Regions from separate parts of the Homo sapiens genome. Here regions 1, 2, 3, 4, 5 and 7 are each linked to region 6. The links are contacts of gene promoters, found by promoter capture Hi-C in blood cells and fetal thymus (Javierre and others, 2016). All regions are on one chromosome and are shown on one strand. Each heading gives the region's core, a stretch centred on a gene start or on the middle of the fragment in contact. The rest is flanking DNA. Distances are from core to core; before and after follow the strand shown. Region 1 overlaps NCK2 (NCK adaptor protein 2). Region 2 has its middle 68 kb from the start of CD8B2. Region 3 overlaps NCK2 (NCK adaptor protein 2). Region 4 has its middle 100 kb from the start of CD8B2. Region 5 overlaps NCK2 (NCK adaptor protein 2). Region 6 holds the start of UXS1 (UDP-glucuronate decarboxylase 1). Region 7 overlaps NCK2 (NCK adaptor protein 2).

Region 1 (2,700 bases), core at 196-2,695, 350 kb after region 6:
GTCTTAGACACTAATCACACTGGGAGGAAGGCTGTGACTGTCAAGTGATTCCCTGGTGCCAGCATTTTGGAAAATCAACATAAATTTAATAAGCCAATTTTCTTACATGATGTTAACTGTAAACAAATGAAATTCCATATAACTGCACTGGAATCAACACTGCCTTCTGCCAAGCCAGAAGACAGCATGGTGAAGGGGTGAAGAGGAAATACCAACAATGGGAAAATACCCACGTATGAAAATGGACATAGATGTCTTTGGTGGAACTTGGCTTCTTAGGAAACACAAGTGAGGTCTTTTCAGGTAGTGCATACTCCCTGCTCCCAAAGTAGACGGATAACAGTCACCATTTTTAGCGGTTTATCAGGCCTTCCTATTTTTTTTTCACAGCTGTAAGGTACTTGTAAATTTTGTAACTTAAACATCTACTTCAAAAAAACCTCGGCTGGGCGTGGTGGCTCACATCTGTAATCCTGGCACTTTGGGAGGCTGAGGTGGGTGGATCATCTGAGGTCAGGAGTTCGAGACCAGCCTGGCCAACATTTGAAACCTCACCTCTACTAAAAATACAAAAAATTAGCCGGGCATGCTGGTACATGCCTGTAATTTCAGCTACTCAGGAGGCTGAGGCAGGAGAATCACTTGAGCTCAAGAGGCGGAGGATGCAGTGAGTAAAGATCAGTCACTGCACTCCAACCTGGGTGACAGAGTAAGATTCATCTCAAAAAAAAAAAAAAAATTCAAAATATAAATGTCATGAGTTTCCTCAGTTCTTACAAATGAATTCAGCTACATTAATCAATATCTGACCTTTTTCCTTGCCACCTTGTTACTCACGATTCCCTGCCTGATTTTGAAACATGCAAGGTTGAAACAAGAAGCACAGTGATTTTTAAAAACAGATTCCACACTACCCAGGTCTCATAATGTTAAAATATTATTAGGCTACTAAAATCATTTTAGTTCTGCAGATTTATATGGTTTATGCCCACATTCCTAAGCATGGTATCTATGCTTTAGATTTTCCTATTGAAGTGGGAGAGTGGATTATAGAAAGCCCCTCTGCACCCCGCTCTAGGGACAAGAACCTGTACCTACCTGCCAGCAGGGACCCTGTGTAGGAGAGGGGACATGGGTTACTTTGGGTTTAATTACTATAGACACCTCTATAAATGAGTTTGGAACAATAAATGCTAATATTTATTCCAAATGTAGAATTCTGTTAAAGAAACCATCCCTATCATTTAAGAAAACAGAATGAGGAAATAAAGGTTTCTAGCATCTGTGCTTGATATTTCAAAATATATATATCTATTTTTATGTATATATATTTATATATTCTTTTATATACATATATACATACATACATATATATATATATATATATATCCCCCCCCGCCCCAAGACAGAGTCTTACTCTGTTGCTCAGGCTGGAGTGCAGTGGCGCGATCTCAGCTCACTGCAACCTCCTCCTCCTGGGTTCGAGCAATTCTGCCTCACCCTCCCGAGTAGCTGCAATTACAGGTAAGAGCCTCCATGCCCAGCTGTTTTTTTTTTTTTTTGTTTTTTTCTACTTTTAGTAGAGATGGGGGTTTCATCATGTTGGCCAGGCTGGTCTCCAACTCGACTTCATAATCCGCCCGCCTCAGCCTCCCAAAGTGCTGAGATTACAGGCGTGAGCCACCATGCCTGGCCCAAAAATATTTTTTAGACTAAAATAGGTTCCTTTATTATTAACATATTACATTAGTATGATAAGCATGTTACAATTAATGAACCACTACCCATACATTAACTAAAGTTCATGGTTTATTCAGATGTCCTTAGCTTTCCCTTAATGTCCTTTTCTTGTCCCAAGATCCCACCCAGGATCCCACACTACATTTAGTTGTCACGTCTGCTTAGGCGCCTCTTGACTGTGGCAGTTCTCAGACTTCCCTTTTTTTTGAAGAGCATTGGTCAGGTATTTAAAGAATGTCCCCCCACCCGTTAGGATTTGTCTGATGTCATGAGAAAAACATCAGACAAATCCTAAGTGGGGGACCTTCTGCAAAATACCTGATCAGTGCTCCAGTATTAGCTTTTGGGAGGAAGACCACAGAGGCAACATGCTATTCTCATCTTACCATATCAAAGGTCAACATGGCTTAGGACTGCAGACTGCTGATGTTGACCTTGATCACCTGGCTGAGGCGGTGTTTGTCAGGATTCTCCACTGAAGTTACACTTGCCCCCTTCCATGCTATGCTCTTTGGAAGGAAGTCTCCAGGAACAGCCCACGCTTAAGGGTGGGGAGTTAACTCTTCCATCTCCTTGAGGGCAAAGCATCTACATGAATTATCTGGAAACCTTTTGCACAGGAGATTTCTCTTCCCCTACTAATTAACGTATTCCATCATTTATATCACTGTGATCTTACGGCTATTTTATACTCTGGGCTACCATCCAATATTGCTTTTTCTTGAATTGTTCCAGCTTTGTGTATGGGAGCGTTTTCAGCTGGCTACTGTGTCCCTGTGACGTATCACCATCACTGCGAGTGTTCGTTCGTTTGTTTCTTTGAGCACATCCTTACTTTCTGGCACCACAAGATGCTCTGGGCTTTTCTTGCATATTTTCTACCCCAGTCCCAGAATCAGTATATCTGCCTTGATTGTAACCAGCAGTACCTGTAGTCCACTTTTTACACATGAATCCTTT
Region 2 (2,705 bases), core at 124-2,623, 360 kb before region 6:
TACATTCAATTTAATTCAGCAAAAATTTTTTAAGCTTTAATTATATGCCTATCACATAGTAACATATAAACAAGTATTACTCTTTAATGCAATAGAATTGTATTTCTATTTTACATCTAATTGTATGGTGGAAACACAGAAAACAATACAAGCTAGCAAAAATGAATGGATTCTCTCTTATGCAATTGGTAGCATTCGTTTACAATGCTCATCTTAATGTCTTATTCATAAGTTATGATATGATATAAATGGCTAATAATAGCAAAAGCAAGTAAATAAAATTCTACTTCTGTGTTGTCTGTTGGGAAAAAAAATTACTCTTAAAGCAGTCTTTCTGAAAAATTTCCCTAAGTCTGTGTTTCCAAATTCAGTGTCAGCAAAGGTATTTAACTCTTAGAGTGGGCAAAAAGGAGCTCATCCAGAAATAAAATTTTGATCATCCCAAATGGAGGGAGACAGAAGAGAAAAAGAATGCGAGTTAATGGATGAAGGGCAAAGCACTGCGTCTGAAATATGAGAGGTGTGGGAACACAGCATGTGGAAGCCATATCTCCATTTGTGTGTCCATCGTGTGGCACCGAGCTCTCAGGGCATCTGCATGCCTGTTCTCCAAATGAGTTCCTTCAGACCTAAGGGGAAGAAGTCCCATCTCATCAAACACACATTCACTGCTCATTATCTGCAGCAGATTACGATAGTGACCCAGATTCCAAAAACGTACTTTTTTCCGTGTTGCTCCCAGAAGTTCTTCCTAACCTGTCTCCTTGGTCTATTTTGCAAGTCAGAGTTGGAGGGCATAGAGAGGGATGCAAGGTGGGGAGTGAGAAAGCAGGCGAAAGGATAGAGGTAGGGAAGAGCCAAGGATGTGTCCTAAGGGACAGCATCTGAACCAGCAGAGGCACTCTCCTGCAGCATGTGTGAGCCTTGTCCAAGAACACCTGCAAAGCCAAGACTACCTGTTTAGAGGGCTCCAAAGTGAAAACCTGTCCACCACCTCCAGAAACCCAGCCATGGCCTGTTACAGTGGGAATTTGCCTGGCTAGCAATAAAGAGGCAATTCAGGCCTGCTAGGAGAAACAAGTGTTCCCACTCCATGTCTTCTTACAGGCAGACACACCCCAGAGAGCACTGGTTAGAAGGCTTGGTCCCTCTCCTAGCTGAGCCATGGGCTCCAGGCCAGACTCTGGCTCTTGCTCTGTTATAGAGTAAACCTCTTTGCTTCAGTTTCTCCATCTGTAAAACGAGGACATCTGACTAACCAACTACTTTCAAGATACCTTCTGGTTCTGGAGGTCTATGATTCTATAAGCACCACCAAACACATGCATGCTTCAAAGTCTTTATCATCAAATTAATGAAAACAGCTCCAAGTTCGACTGCAACTCATGCTAGTGATATGACTACTGCTTAGTCTCTCTGAGCTTCAGGTGCCTCATCTATAAAATGGGAACACTAATATCCACACTTGCAGAGTTTTGTGAAAATCAAATCAAGTAAGATTTAAATATCTAGTACAGCACCTGCTACATAGTAGGAATCCACACCTTCCCTTTGTAGTATAGTAATGTGCCACGTAACAATGAACTGCATATAGGACCATGGTCAAATAAGATTATAATGTCATATTTTTACTGTACCTTTTCTAGGCTTAGTTAGGTTTAAATACACAAATTCTTACCATTGTGTTATAATTGCCTATAGTACTCAGTACGGTCACATGCTGTAAACGTTTGTGCCTCGGAGCAATAGGACAGAGTACAGCCTGTACAGCTGAGGTGTGTAGTAGACAATACCATCTAGGTCTTTGTAAGTTCACTCTGTGATGTCCACAGAATGACAAAATTGCATTTCTGAGAATGTATCCACGTCATTAGTCAGTGCATGACTGTAAATGATTCCAGTGGTGATCGTTTACTGTCACACCAGGGTTCCTCAGCACTATTGACACTGGGGGCTGGAGAGCCCTCCGTTGTAGGGCTGTCTTGTGCCCTGTAGGATGTTCAGCAATTTCCCTGGTCTCTGCTCATTAAATGTCAGTAGGACACTCTCCCCGCATACAGTTGTGAACACTGAAAATATCTCCAGCCATTTTCCCCAGAAGGACAAAATTGCCCCCTTTGAGAACCACTGACTTATGCAGATCCCAATTGCACAAAAGAATGGGGGAAAGACACCTTGCATAAGATCATTCCTGCAGTGAGAGCCAGAGCTCAGGTGAGAACCCATCTCTTCAGAGCTCTGGTCCAGGTGTGACTGCCACTACCTCTTGGGATTTCTGGCCTCAGAGGGCAAGAAAGCAAGGGAAGGAAGAATGGAGCTAATACATTGTGCATCTTCTGTGTTCCAGAAACCATTATGGATGCCAGTTGAATAATCGTACCAACCAACTGGCAACCCAAATTCTTACCTTAAAGCAGGGGTATCCAATCTTTTGGCTTCCTTTGGCCACACTGGAAGAAGAAGAATTGTCTTGGGCCGCACGTAAAATACACTAACACTAATGATAGCTGATGAGCTTAAAAATGTCGCAAAAAACTCTCGTAATGCTTTAAGAAAAATTACGAGTTTGTGTTGGGCTGCATTCAAAGCCATCCTGGGCCAAACGGTCACGGGTTGGACAAATTTGCCTTAAGGGTATACTGAATTGATAATGGGAACAGTTTTTCAAAGCCCGAGAGAGAACAGAAAAGGTGCTTGAGTCTTGC
Region 3 (2,850 bases), core at 197-2,696, 430 kb after region 6:
GAGAAAACATAAACTGTAACACAGAGGCAGAGATTGAAAAGAAAATAATGTTCAAAAGGGTCAGCGCACATGTCTGTATTCAGTCTTTTTTGGTCTCACTGTCATATAGGCTGGAGTACAGGGGCCTGATCACGGCTCACTGCAGCCTGGACCTCCCAGGCTCAAGTGATCCTCCTGCCTCAGTCTCCTAAGTAGCTGGGACTACAGGCACTTGCCACCATACCCAGCTCATTTTTTTGTATTTCTTGTAGAGACAGGGTTTCGCCATGTTGCCCAGGCTGGTCTTGAACTCCTGGGCTCAAGCAATCCTCCCACCTGAGCCTCCCAAAGTGCTGGGATTACAGGCATGAGCCACTATGAGCCACTCTGCCTGGCCCAGTCATTTTTTAATAAACAAAATGCATTATTATAAATTATATCTATGTGAATGAATACAACAGAGTCTCTCTCATCTGTGTATAATGGTTTGGGAAGGGTGGAGCAGGAAGTAGTGTCCCCCCACCTGGCCTTCCACCCAAGCCTGGAATCGTCCCATCACTAGGAGGGAGAAGGCAGTGACCAGAAAGAGAAACAGGCTAATGGCCTTAATTCTGACTTTTTCTGTACCCAAGAGAAAGGTGAGCCACTCTTCTCCCTCCCAAAAAAAGATTCTCTGGAAGTCAGTCAGCCAGGAGTTAAAATGACCACTTCAAGACCCTCCCCACGCCAGCTTCTGAGCCAACGCCTGCCCCGTCCATACCACCGCTCCCATACACACCCAAACCTCCCAGCACCCGGGTAGGGCACAACCCTGCTGCCCAGAAGAGGCCCAGTAGGGTGGGCGGGCAGGCACACCAGCATGGCCTCACAGCAGACTCTGGCCCCCATCTATGAGAGGAGAATGCCTTCCTCAGACACTGGGTCGGGACCACTTCCTGAGCCCAGTCACAGACCAGGGCTTCCTCAGGCGGAAGCAGGATGAGGGCCACCCAGATCCCAATCCCAAAGAAACTTCTTCAGGCCACTGCCCTCCCACTTCAACCAGGGAATGTGCCCAAGAGCTAGGGGTGTCCCAAAGCGCAAGGCATGACACATGTAGAAACTATGAAGATTTTTCGGTGATTTTTTATTTGCTCAAACCTGAACACAGTCCACGTGGGGTCTCGGTGTCTCTGCCTCTCTCTCTCTCTCACATGTGACAAAACCATTTTCAGAGAAGCCTGGCATCTAGGGACCTCCCTACTCTGGCCCTGACTGGCCTTTCCACAATAGGGTTCTCAGCTGTAACTGGTTTCTCCCTTCACTGGAACTCTGGGCCCACCAAAAGAAGGATGAAGTTATCCAGAAAGCAAAGACCCTTGGTTGATACAAAGGGAGCCTCAGATGGAGAGATCCAAGAGGTGGTCAAAACTGTGGGAGAAGTGGTTACACGGGGAGCCTTAGAGCTAGGTGCCACCAGCAGGGAAGAGGTGTGAACGGCAAGGATGGAGGTGAGGGCCTGACTCCTGGCCGGCACACCTGGGGTTCAAGTGCTAATCCACAGCAGAGGCTCTCAACTTTGAATATGCATCAGAATCACCTGGGGAACTCGTGCAACAGGAAGAATTCCAGACCAACCTATCCCACGCGGGAAGTCAGGCAGTTCCCCGGAATTTGCATTTCTCCACAGCCCAGGACCACATTCTGGAAACCCCATGCTGGGGCACCATCCTATCCTATCACCTCCTCCGCAACAGTGCCAAGGGGCTGTCTGTGCCACAGTGCCTTCTATCCCCACTGAAAATCTTGGTCCCTTTTGGGAGAATAGATAAATCTGTCAGATAGAATTCTAAATAACTAATGTAAATACAACCCCTACAGGAGGTACAGCTGAACTCCCTCTTCCTTAAATGACCTCCTTCCAAAGACTGCAGCAGTATGGAAAGAAGGGAAAAGAGTCACTTGACAGTGGAGTCACTTGACAGTGGAGTCCCCTGACAAACACTACCTGGGCCAGGTGATCAAGATCAACATCAACCATCATAAGCCACGCTGATCACATGGACCCTTGATACAAAATGGCACATTACCTCGGTGGCCTTCCTCCCCAAACCGGTAACTCTACACTAATCATGAAAAAACATCTGACAACTCTCAACTGAGGGACAGTCTACAAAACACCTGAAAAGCAGTTTTGCTCCTCAAAGCTGTCAAGCCATTAAAAACAAGGCGAGTCTAAGAAACTGTCCCAGATCAGAGGCGCTACGGAGACTAAAGGAAACGTGCCCTGGATGGGATCCTGGGACAGAAAAAGGATGTCAGGGCAAATAAACTATGGACTTAACAATAATGTACCAATACTGGTTCATTAGATGTAACCAATGTACTATAGTAACGTAAGATGTGAATCACAGGGGAAAGTAGACACAGTTTATATCAGAATTCTCTGTATTATCTTTGAAACTTTTTCTGTAAATTTAAAATCTATTCTAAAATTAAGCGCTTACTTAAAAATATATACCATATGTTTTATTATATAAAAGCCTGTATGCATAGGGTAACATGGTTGACTTTCAACAATAACAAATTACACTTTGGAAACGTTAAAACACTGTGCTCAACAAAAGGAAATAAATACCCCTATTGATCAGCTTAATACACGAACGTGAGGGTATTACATGGCTGAAATGCAATACAATTTTCTGCTTTCCCCAGAGAACGTACTATGTGTACTTGAATACGTAAAACGATATACTGCATGTGTTTATAAACAAACAAAAAATCTTGCTCCCTTGAATAAGACCAAATAAGGACTTAACACGTGAAATTCTCTCCTTCTGAAGGCCCAAGAACCAGGAATCTAGGTATTCGATCAACCTTTAAAATTTTATC
Region 4 (2,788 bases), core at 242-2,741, 400 kb before region 6:
AACAAGCCCCATAAGCAATCTCATATTCTATAATACTCATGGTGGCTCTGCTTCCCTGATTGGACCCTATGCAGTGGGTCTTGACTATCTTTTTTTTTTTTTTTTTTTTTTTTTTTAAAGACAGAGTCTCTCTGTCAACCAGGCTGGAGTGCAGTGGTGCAATCTCAGCTCACTGCAACCTCTGTCTCCCAGCTTCAAGCAATTCTCGTGCCTCAGCGTCCTGAGTAGCTGGGACTACAGGCACACGACCCCATACCAGGCTAGTTTTTGTATTTTTAGTAGGATGGGTTTTTGCCATGTTGGCCAGGCTGGTCTCAAACTGCTGACCTCAAGTGATCTCCCCGCCTCAGCCTCCCAAAGTACTGGGATTACAGGCATGACCCACCATGCCTGGCTTGACCATCATTTATTAAATGGAAGGAGATGGAATAGGATAGCATAGGTTAGTGATATGGTTTGGATATTTGCCCCCTCCAAATCTCATGTTGAAATGTGATCTGATCCCCGATGTTGGAAGTGAAGCCTGGTGGAAGGTGTTTGTCATGGGGACGGCTTCCTCATGAATGGCTTGGTGCCCTCCCTACGGTAATGAGTGAGTTCTCACTCTATTAGTTTACATGGGAGCTGGTTTTTGTAGAAGCCCAGTACCACCTCCTCTTTCTTTTGCTTCCTCTCTCACCATATGACACACTTGTTCCTGTTTAACCTTCTGCCATGAGAAAAAGCTTCCTGAGGCCTCCCCAAAACCCAAGTAGATGCTGGCACCATGCTTCTTGTACAGTCTGCAGAGCCAAATAAACCTCTTTTCTTTATAAATTACCCAGTTTCATATATTCCTTTATAGCAATGCAAAATGGACTGATAGTTAAGATAGGACAGGATTGGACAGGAGAAAATAGGATAATGTCAATGCATCATGGAGAGTAAAGGTAACTTATTTATAAAGATTTTGCTTCAAATTTTTAGATAATCTAGGTCACCTTGGGTTTAATCCCAAAGATATCAACCCTCATTCCAGCCTGTATAAACGATGCCCTCCAGAGCTGTGCAGTGTGTAGCCTGTGTGTTTATTCAAATGACATCAGTCCTGATACAAAAAGTATTTCTATATGTAGGGGTGTCTTTGTTTTAGACCGCTATAGAATAAAACTACAGACTGGGTAATTTAGAATGAACAGAAACTCATGTTTGTGGAGTCTGGGAAGTCCAAGAGCATGTGCTGGCATCTGACAAGAGCATGTGCTGCATCACCCGGTGGCAGAGGTGTGAGGATGAGAAAGAGAAAGAAGAGGGCCAAACCTCATCCCTTTATCAGGAACCCACTCCAGGAATAATGGCATTAATCCACTCACAAGGGCCCTGCCTCCTTTTAGGGTAAAGAAATTTAGGAGCATAAAACCTGTATTCAAAGATACCTTCTGATCTGTAACTAGGTACACCACTACATAACCCAGTTTTTGACTGGACATCACATCTTAGTCCTCTGAACCTAAACTCACATTGAGGAGAAAGACAGCTGTGTCCATATACAGCCAAATAGAATTCATGGTTAGGCAAATACAAAGAAAAGCCCTCTTCTCAAATGGAATGTGGTTCCACAAGCATCAGGGCAAAAGGATCTCCAAGTTGGAGGCAGATACATAAGCAAGATGCTTTAAGGACAAGTCCTAGGGAAGAAGACATAAAGACAACAGAGGAATGGGCACTAACAAGGTTCAGAGGATGCAAGACTTTGTGAGATTGCAGGAGCAGGCAAAGATTTGACAAGTGAGGCACATAGCTGAGGATATGCTAGTTCCCCTGACTGCCCATAAGCCTCAGGATTCTGAGGGACACGGTGCCCAAGAATGACATCATTTTATTATTAAAAAATATCAGCTCTTCCAAAGTCACTTCTGCTCTTCCATCTTTTGCCTAGTCTCTGCTCTGCAGGCAGATATGTCCTGTTAAAAATTTAGCCAGATCAGCTGGGCATTGATGGTACACTGTTGTCTCGCCTACTCAGGAGGCTGAAGCAGGAGGATGACTTGAGCCCAGGAGTTAGAGGCTGCAGTGTGCTATCATCGTGGAAAAAAAAAAAAAAGCCAGATGATGCCACTCCTCTTTGAAGCCTCCGTGTGTCTCACCAACAGTCTCTGAAATCCTGTGAGACCTGGCTTCCACCTATTTCTCTGACCCATTTCCTACAACACATCTCCTATGCACACACTCTGACCAGCCCCACTGACCTCCTGCTCCTTCCAGAATGGGAAGCTTTCTATCTCAAGGCTTTTGCACTTGCTTTACCCTCTGCCTGGCATGCTGTCCCCCCAGAAACCTGTATGGCTCTCTCCTTCCCCACCTCCGGGTTTTTACCAATTTACATCTTCTCCATGAGGCCTTCCATGATCCCTTATTTAAAATTGCAGCCCCACGCCCACAATCTTCTTCCTTCTTCCTCACTTCTGCATCTTCCAGGGGCCATAACACATCTCGCTTAGCATATTTTACTTATTTGTTAATTCTCTGTCAATCTTTACTGGAATATAAATGCCAGTGAAAACAGGGGTTCATCTGCTTTGTTCAAGGCTATAGTCTCAAGGCTAAAGGGGCCTAGAGGAAAATCCACACTCAATACATACATGTTGAATGAACTCGATTTCCCAGCTGGTTTTGCCGACATAGGGGAATGGTGCTGTACACATATGTACTTGTACATGTACATACATGTTGGTATTCAGCCAGCTTAGTGAATTTTATTATTAGTCATAATACTGAATTAATTCTCACGGTTTTTTTTAATATAGAT
Region 5 (2,801 bases), core at 115-2,614, 400 kb after region 6:
GGGGCTTAGATAAAGGATTGGCCATTAATTGATAACTGCTGAAGCTGGGCAATTTATTCTGATTCTACCTTAGGACTACACTGAATATGATGATCTTGATAACTAAGAAATCACATCTTACAAAGAATGTCAAGATCATCATAAAATGTGATAGCTGAAAGGGCCATCAGAAACCCCCAAGCAGCAAACCATCTTCTACATATGAAGGTGCGCAAAGCACCTCCCTGCCTAGGGCATGGAGCGGGTCAGTGGTGAGGCTGAGCAGGAGGGGTCTCCAAAATCTCATCCATCTCTCCGGTCACCAAGGCAGGACTGGGGAAGCGTTCCCACGGCTCTGTGCAGAGCCCACAACACAATCAACAGCTTGCTTTTCAGAATCAACCGCTAACCCATTAAGGCTCTTCTTTTTGTTTCTGATTATGCTTAAAAAACACACACTCAAAACATCGAAAAAACATTTTTGGTAGCTTGACCTCTGCTCCTCCCAAAAAGAAAAATCAGTTCACTCGATAAAATCTTGGTAAGTTATTCGGGTGTTAAATATACAACAGATATGAAAATATTGAGTGGCCTATCAAAACACAACCACCACGAGCAGCTGCGTCATTTTTACATGGATCAAATTATAGACAAAACTCACAAGCTCTACGAAGAATGTATACCACTGATTTGCCTGAATTGTCAAGTAGAAAAACGAAACCCTGTATCAAGCACTTCAAGAGGTCACTATGATCAGATCTATTATGGAGTCAGTTCGAAATGCTCTTTGCTCTAGAGAAGTTTAAATGAACACAAGAGTGCTCTAAAAACATACAATAAACTACACTGTAATACACGGAACAAATAAGGACATCCCAAAGACAGTGAGCGAAGAGTAATCTGCAGCAGCACTCTGGCCGGTAAGCACGGCAACGGGGCGAGGGTGCACTCCCTACATTGTTGTTAGGCACTTTACACCGTATATCCTCCCATCGTGAAAGCCACCGAGCCTTCCACCACACCTGGTCACTCTTCTTCTGGAGTGAAGAGAAAAACGTGAAGGCACAGAGGTTACGTGGGAGAGGTAAAAAATGACCAGTTTCTTATCAGTGTGGCTGTAATTTACATCACTGCCTCAGGTTTCTCTAGATGAATCAACATTCTCTTAAGAATTACTAGAATTTAAATCCTGGAAGGAAGGATTAGAGATCTTCCGCTGTCACCTCTTCATTTAACAAATGAGAAAATGAGGGTGCAGAGTGGCTGAGCCCAGGGCCGCAGGGGCTTCCAAGTGGCTCCCACATACAGTACCTACCCTCTCAGCTGTGTTGCTCATGGGCATTTCCAGAGCCCCAAAGTTTCCTGAGTGGGAGCGGACAACCTCTAAGCAGTGCCTTCCAACTCTTGCAGGTTCTAACACGAGGAGCACTCCCCTAGCAGTGTGCATCTGTGATATAAAGGGGAGGGGTTGGACTCTGGCTGGCTCCTCACCAAGCCCTGCAGATGAGGACTCTCCTCCCTTGCCTCGGGCTGACCTGCCACACCCTTCCTTCTTCGGGCACAGCTCAAAGGCCGTTCCCTCCACCCAAGTCTTGCCTATGTGCATCAGCTGGCAGCGAGAGACCCACCTGGACAGCAGCCTTAAAGAAACAGGTACAGTCTCCTGAAGACAAGCTCCACCCATGTACACTTCTCCCCTAGGGGTGCCCAGAACAGAGGAAGGAGGCACTAAGGGCCTGGCCTGATGCCTTCACCTAAGATGAGGACAGGTGCGGGGGATGCAGTAAGATGTCACATCAAGTGATGACACTCCAGGCAGCAACACCTGGCACACTTCTCAAAGGGCCTAGGAAACCAGGGCTCCAGAGGTGGCTCCTCTCAGTGGGTGAGGTAACAAGAAATGGGGCAGGCGGGGGTGGCCGGGCTCCCAGGCTGCCTGCAGAGGGGTCTCCTCACAGGCACAGACTCTCCTGCTGCCCAGGCATAGAGTGCTACCCATCCTAGAAGTCAGGCTACTTGCCAGCCTATGGCATTGAGAAGCCCAGGGCTCAGCAACTGTTCCCACTCTGAGTCAGCAGGGCAAGATCTGCTAAAAATAGATGGTGGGCAATGACGAGAGCTGCAGGAAGCCAAGAAACGAGTCTGTCATTTTAATCCAATCAACAGATCCTAATGACATGCACACTATTTCTAACGGTTTACTTTTATGTCTAAATGTTCAGGTCTATTTGTGGGCTTTGATGAAGAAGAAACGGCTGCCCGTATTTTTAGCTCACAAATCAACTTTTAATTCTTCTCGTTCTACAAATAGGAAGTAACATTCCACAAAGTAGAAGCAATAAAAATTAAGATGTTTTGAAGACAAGCCAATTCTGCTCCCTTGCACTCAATACATGAACACGCTAGTGTTGGACTCTGATTACCCTGCCCCCTCCAGGCAGTGATGGCAAAACACAACATCCATTCGTGAACATTTAGTTGGCGACCACTCATATCCAACCTGTTCGTTATCTGATGGTGAGGTGTGCCCTGGCCAGCACCAGCATCACCTGGGGACTTTTTAAAAATGCAAATTACTGGGGCCCACCCCAGACCACTGAGGCAGAAACTGGGGGTGTGTGGGGCAGCAGTCTGTGTCAGAAAAAGCCCTCCCGTTAACCGGGAGCAAGCCTAAGTTGGGGTTTGAGAATCACAAGCCGGGGAGCAAGGTCCTCACCAGCAGATGATGATGGACAATAAGTGCTTTACAGCTGGTTCCGAAGGCAGGTTTTATTGCTCCTATAAGGATTTTATGTAGCAAGAGGATCATTTTCATCAGAAAG
Region 6 (2,700 bases), core at 115-2,614:
GTCAGGGAGCTGGGCTTCTCGAAAGAAGTCCACTCCATCTATGGGCAGCATGCATAGCAGGGGCAATCCGCCTTAGCAAACCGCTCAGTGTTTCCTCCTAGTCAGGGATTCTCAACAGGTTTAGGGGAGGGGTAGGATGGAGGTAGGTTTTATCAGAATCACATCATTTGCACTATAGTTTGAAAGATGTAACATAAAGCTGCTGCTTTAGTACCAGCTGCCATATTTCCTTTTCTTGGAGGTTTCTAATAAATCTAAAGGAGGGTGATCTATTAAGTTTTGCAAAATGGCCTGAGGTTCCAAGAGGTAGGAGAGCCGCTGCTGACTTCAACTTCTCCGTATAGCTGAAGATGACCTCTTGAAGCCTGCAGATCCCAAATCCGGGATCTCTCTTAATGTGGCATCACACACATCTGTGTGTACCTGTCTTTTTTTCCTCCATGGGACCAGCTCTCTCCAGATCCAATGACAAGCTTCCGATTATCTGTGGATCTTCTGATACATCTCCTTGCTTGTAATCATCATTCAGTAAATGCTTTTTAAACACAGGTACCTCCTATGCAATCAGTACAGCACTCATAAAACAGATATACTCAACAAAAAGATTGAATGAAACACACACGACAACATGGTCAGGGTTTTTCTCTAGGCAGAGACAGCGCAATTTCATCTTTTCTTTTCCAAGTCTATCCTAAATTAATATACTTAGCACTGCTTTTTAAAATAATAATAAAAGACTATTATTAAAACAAAGGCACCCCAGTTGATCATAGCCAAGGAAAAAAAACGCAGCCAGTTTTTACTTCGGCAAGGTTTAGGGGATTTATCATTTTCGCTGCCGATATTCTAACTAAAAAAAGCCAACTAAACAGCCCAGAGAACGAGGCAACTTTCTGAGGCAGGCATTCAACTTCTAAGGCTCGGCCAAGTTTAGCAAATAAGTTTCGTTTCACTGCAACACCGGAATGCCCACCGCGTGCCCCCCTCCGGGCGGGGCTCGGAAACTGGCCACTGCAGTCGTGCCCTTGGGTTGGGGACGCACCTCAGCGAAACGAATCCAGCCGCACCTCCCGGCTGGCACCCGCGCGCTTTAACTCAGGGAAAACAGACCGGAACGCGCATGCGCCGCGGCGCGCCGCACCGCCCACCAGCCCTCCAGGTCACATTCTTCGAAAACCAAGGCAAGAAAGGCGGCAACTGCGCCTGCGGGTAGAGAAGCCGGAGGGGCGGGGGCGGAGCCGGAGGAAGGGGGTGGAGGCGCGCCTGCGCGGTGATCCCGCCAGCAGGAAGCAGGCGCGCGGGGGCGGGGGCGCGCGGCGGCAGGAGGCGGGGCTCTCGGGGCCGCTGCCGCCGCCGCCGCCGCGCATTGTGCAGCAGGCGGGCCCCCGCGCGGTAGGGCCCTGGACCCGCGCGGCTCCCGGGGATGGTGAGCAAGGCGCTGCTGCGCCTCGTGTCTGCCGTCAACCGCAGGAGGATGAAGCTGCTGCTGGGCATCGCCTTGCTGGCCTACGTCGCCTGTGAGTGCGCGCCCGCTGCCAGCTGGGGAGCCCCATTCATTCCCCGGCGCCGCGGTGGGCCGGGCGGCGGTGGTTCGGGGCCCCGAGGCGGCCCTGCAGCCCCGCGTTGCTCCCCGCCCCGGGCGGGGCCGGCGCTTTCTGCTCCCACCCCTTTCCACTCTTGCAGCAAAGCGGGCCAACTTGGGCGCACACCCCCTACCGCTTAGGCCCGGGCGCGGACCCCGGGCGGAGGGGCCCCTAGCAGTCCTCGGGCGGCCCCAGGTCTCTGCCTCCTGCCCGGGCGCGGGGGACTCGGCGGCGGCGCTGTCGTCCATGTCGCGCTGGGAGCCGGCGAGGGTCCCGGTCGGGGACTCCGGAGCGTGCCGCGTGGGGATACCCTTGGGGACAGCCGAGGTCGCGCCGCGGTGTCGGTTAAGTCGGATAAAAATACTGTGGCCATTGGCAGAGCCCCCGCTCCGACTGTTTGCTCCTCAGGAAAATTACTCAGCGTTTAACTCTTGGGGAGCCAAGTGTGGGCGGCTCCCCGGCCCGCGGCCGTGCCCAGGTGTCGGGGCGCACCGGCATCCCCATTCTAGGTTTTCCCCCGGGGCTCGGCGGCCGGGCGAAGCAGGCAGGCAGCTGGGTGGCCGGGCAGGGCGTGCCTGCAGCTTCTCTGTGCGCGGGTCCAGTTTCTGTCATCGCTCACAGCATGCTGCCTGGAGACAGGGCAGGAGGGGCACTTCGCAGGCAGGTGGTCGGCCCTCTGCTTGTTAGGGAAGTCAGAAACCGTCCTTTTAAAGATCTATTCGTTGGGAATGTTTTAATTGATGCTATTAATACGTTACCAAGTAGCAAAATTGGACTAGAAATAGCTCCCAGTGTGAGCTGCGTTTGAATGCTAGCCACCCAGACACACACTGAAATGAAATCACCTGCTAACCTGTTGGCGTTACCAAGATCTGATTCCAGAGGTGAGTGGGTACTTCACTTGTCTGAAGTGACTTCAGTTGAGCTCTAGGAAGGCAAGTATGAGTAGATCCAGCCTGTGTGCTACAGCCCAGCTGTTCAGGAGGTGGAGCTGGAAAACCCCAGCAGGACTCCGGGTTGCTAGGGGAGGTTTCAGGCGTCGGATGGGTGTTAGATGTGTGTAGTTTTGCAAGGGAGGAAGAACTAGTCTAAAGTGTGTGTGTGGTCAATCTTGAGT
Region 7 (2,700 bases), core at 79-2,578, 380 kb after region 6:
AAGTTCATAAATTTTGATTTAAAAATTAATTCCTTTTTATGTATTCTCTAGCACTGTTTTAAAGGCCGCATCATTTTAATACAGATATAATTTAAGGCAAGGAAAAGGTGATGGCCAAACACAGTGGGAATACATCTTTGGGCAAGAAGTTCAAACGTATACTAGGCAGATTGCCCTTCTCTCTGTTAAGTGTTTATAATAAAATGACAGGTCCTCTCGAGATGGAAGTATTGGAATCTGAACTCAGTTCTTGACCAAGAGTTCTTGTTTCTCATGCTGACACCACTGAACATCAGCAAAGGGCAATGTGCTGGGTACCATGCCCCAAACACCACCTCTGTATGTGTCATTTTCAGGGGCTATTATAAACGTTAAGTTGTGTTGTTAAGATTTTAACTGGGAAGTGAATTTGCCCAGAGTCTGCCTTCCACAGGCAAATGCAAGGAATTGTTTTATGCAGTTGTTTGGGCTGTCCAAATACAGGCCTCCCCCCTGTGTGCCCTGTGTCTCATGAGTAATATGATTTAATCCTTCTGATACACTGCCAGGATGGATTCTAATGCCCAAATGTACAGAGGAGTTCACTTTCTCAGTGACACTAAAGGTTTTTCCCAACCGACTGGAGAGTGAGGAATCACTTAGGCCTTGGACTCCGGATGAGTGGGCTTTGCACATCTCTAATCTCTTCTGCATGCGAACAGAGGAGAGACTCCTTATGCCAACAGCAAACCAAAAGCCTGAGCAGCTTCTCTACCAGACCCCGCAAAAGAACAATGAGCTGGATTTAGAACTTGAGTCCTTTGATACTAGGCACAGTGGGCAAGTCAGAACACGGCCTCTCCAAGCACAATCAGTAAAGGAAAAGCCAGACAGAACGGAGCAGGACTTGAACTAATGCAGCAGCTCCAACAAAAGTGAGGCTACTGAAAATCCATTGAAAGGTGCCAGTGGCCATCTGGGATTCAAGTGTAAAACGTGAAGGTTGCATGCGATGTTTTCCTTGAGAAAAGCATTCCACTGACAAACTGTCAATGTGTTAAGTGTACACCCTAAGTAGAATAAAACATGGTGGTCAACATCTCTCTCTCTGGGTTTAAATGAAGACTGCCCAAGTTTAACATGGGGCTCTTAGCTTATTCAAAACCTGTGTTAAGGAAGAGCATTTCAAAGCAGGTCTTAATTATAATCAGTGATCGAAATCCATCAGGAAAGTATACACTTTTGTGCAAAAAACAGTATCAGCCTGAAAGATAAACACCTATACGGTCACTTGGACTGTAGAAGGCCCTCACCAAAGGATTCAAGGATTTTCTACAGCCAGCTTCAGGACAGGAATATACAGAAGGAGTGTGTGCTTTTCTCTAAAAGTACTTCACTAGCACTACGTGCATCTCCCTTTAGAAATAAAGGAGGGAGGGCTGGAAGGCAATTAACACTGATACCGTACGTATCTCTTCATTTTAATGTGGATCCTTAATACTACAAAATTTTACCACTGCAAAATCCAAGGGATTATCTGAATTCTCTGTAACCTTAAAATTTGCTTTTTTTCCACTAAAGCCACAACCCAGGGTTTTCCAGTGTTTTCAGCAGCACTTAGCTGCAGTGTTGGGCGAGTGTGCTGAGCACTGCCAGGCCACACTACTTGTCCCAGGCGCAGGGCCAGGCAGTGAGATGCCCCCCTGCAAGCAGTCGTGGCCGATTCTGCATCCCCAATGCCTGTGTGGTGCTGGCGCAGTGTCTTCTGCTGCACCTGGGCTGGTTTCCTCCAACTATCAGCATCTGAGAGGGAAGTCCAGTGATGAGGTCCCTGACTAAGGCAACTCCAGAGGAGCAGTTCAGGGTTAAGAAGGGAGTTATGAGCCTTGTTCTGATGACAGCCCAAGGCTGTGAGCTTTGTGGACATAATACCACTGGGTGCTGTCACTCAACCTGTTTTTGAGGTGGCCTATTTGTCCAGAAAACTGAAGTCACCAAGAGACTAAAGTCAGCCTTCAGGAGGCTCAGGGAATCCCTCCTCTCCCACTGTCCAAATGATAGAAACGGTGACAGGCTGGGAGAAGAACATGTTCTGATTCCAGTGAGACACTCGCCGTGGCTTCACCTTAGCATCAGCTGCAAGAATCGTCACAGCAACCCTGGGAGATACATCTTATCATTCAGCCCAGGAACCAAATGACCAGATGTCTCACAACCAGAATTTGAATGCACACTTGTCTGATTTTAAAGCCAGAGTGCTCCTTCTCCTGACAAAGATCACCACGAAAGGGCTAGAACCTTGACAGTCGCATTCTGCAAATCGCATCTGCTGATGCCATCTGTCTGGGGTATCTGCCACCCTGGGTGGCCGGCTCCAACCTCTCAAATCAGCTAGGAACCATGTCAGGCTACATCAAGAAGCAAGCCCATGAATGTACACACACCAAGTTTGTTTTCAACGTTACTGCTTCTCTTAGATGTTAGCACAGGAGGGAAAAAAAAAAAAAAGCCTTGTTGAATAGTGTCACCTGGCTTCAGTAATGAGCAGATGTTGGACTCGGGTGTGTATCATAACCAAATCTAATCTGTGTTACACATGGAGAGAACCACTCCAGATCCCTAGTCTGTAGCCAGAGCTAAGGCAATTGTCCTTTTCCTTTTATTTAAAAAGAAAAACAAAAAAGCATGGATTAGCATAGGCCTCAGAGCTCTCAAATGCCT

The links. Contacts are between HindIII fragments. The CHiCAGO score rates a contact against its expected background, and 5 or more counts as called.
Region 1: a fragment that was not itself captured here is called in contact with the fragment with the promoter of UXS1 in region 6 in 1 of 17 cell types (neutrophils); the score reaches 6.7 in neutrophils.
Region 2: a contact is called between a fragment that was not itself captured here and the fragment with the promoter of UXS1 in region 6, in 4 of 17 cell types (monocytes, M2 macrophages, M1 macrophages and 1 more). The highest score is 12.6, in monocytes.
Region 3: a contact is called between a fragment that was not itself captured here and the fragment with the promoter of UXS1 in region 6, in 10 of 17 cell types (neutrophils, naive CD8 T cells, naive CD4 T cells and 7 more). The highest score is 11.6, in neutrophils.
Region 4: a contact is called between a fragment that was not itself captured here and the fragment with the promoter of UXS1 in region 6, in 1 of 17 cell types (monocytes). The highest score is 5.3, in monocytes.
Region 5: a contact is called between a fragment that was not itself captured here and the fragment with the promoter of UXS1 in region 6, in 4 of 17 cell types (total CD4 T cells, naive CD4 T cells, naive CD8 T cells and 1 more). The highest score is 7.0, in total CD4 T cells.
Region 7: a contact is called between a fragment that was not itself captured here and the fragment with the promoter of UXS1 in region 6, in 4 of 17 cell types (naive CD8 T cells, neutrophils, total CD4 T cells and 1 more). The highest score is 7.7, in naive CD8 T cells.

Annotation. Positions count from the first base shown.
Region 1 is chr2:105,843,437-105,846,136 of GRCh38, reverse strand. The region is part of intron 2 of NCK2 (NCK adaptor protein 2); the gene reads right to left. Among named protein-coding and RNA genes, the nearest start is that of NCK2, 100 kb to the right of the region's middle. The HindIII fragment of the contact is 6,296 bases long and covers 1-2,700 here.
Region 2 is chr2:106,553,695-106,556,399 of GRCh38, reverse strand. No RefSeq gene overlaps it. Among named protein-coding and RNA genes, the nearest start is that of CD8B2, 68 kb to the right of the region's middle. The HindIII fragment of the contact is 2,674 bases long and covers 37-2,705 here.
Region 3 is chr2:105,759,112-105,761,961 of GRCh38, reverse strand. All of the region lies in intron 1 of NCK2 (NCK adaptor protein 2), which reads right to left. Among named protein-coding and RNA genes, the nearest start is that of NCK2, 16 kb to the right of the region's middle. RefSeq lists an enhancer at 831-910. The HindIII fragment of the contact is 3,292 bases long and covers 1-2,850 here.
Region 4 is chr2:106,589,096-106,591,883 of GRCh38, reverse strand. No RefSeq gene overlaps it. Among named protein-coding and RNA genes, the nearest start is that of CD8B2, 100 kb to the right of the region's middle. RefSeq lists a silencer at 1,701-1,921. The HindIII fragment of the contact is 1,528 bases long and covers 728-2,255 here.
Region 5 is chr2:105,789,578-105,792,378 of GRCh38, reverse strand. All of the region lies in intron 1 of NCK2 (NCK adaptor protein 2), which reads right to left. Among named protein-coding and RNA genes, the nearest start is that of NCK2, 46 kb to the right of the region's middle. RefSeq lists enhancers at 1,886-1,935, 2,016-2,065, 2,306-2,355. The HindIII fragment of the contact is 5,853 bases long and covers 1-2,801 here.
Region 6 is chr2:106,192,965-106,195,664 of GRCh38, reverse strand. It overlaps UXS1 (UDP-glucuronate decarboxylase 1), which reads left to right and starts at 1,364. Exons shown (of 15, transcript NM_001253875.2): 1 at 1,364-1,517. The coding sequence starts at 1,424. RefSeq lists a silencer at 1,282-1,891 and an enhancer at 2,222-2,271. The HindIII fragment of the contact is 11,333 bases long and covers 476-2,700 here.
Region 7 is chr2:105,812,603-105,815,302 of GRCh38, reverse strand. All of the region lies in intron 1 of NCK2 (NCK adaptor protein 2), which reads right to left. Among named protein-coding and RNA genes, the nearest start is that of NCK2, 69 kb to the right of the region's middle. RefSeq lists an enhancer at 2,301-2,700. The HindIII fragment of the contact is 5,530 bases long and covers 1-2,700 here.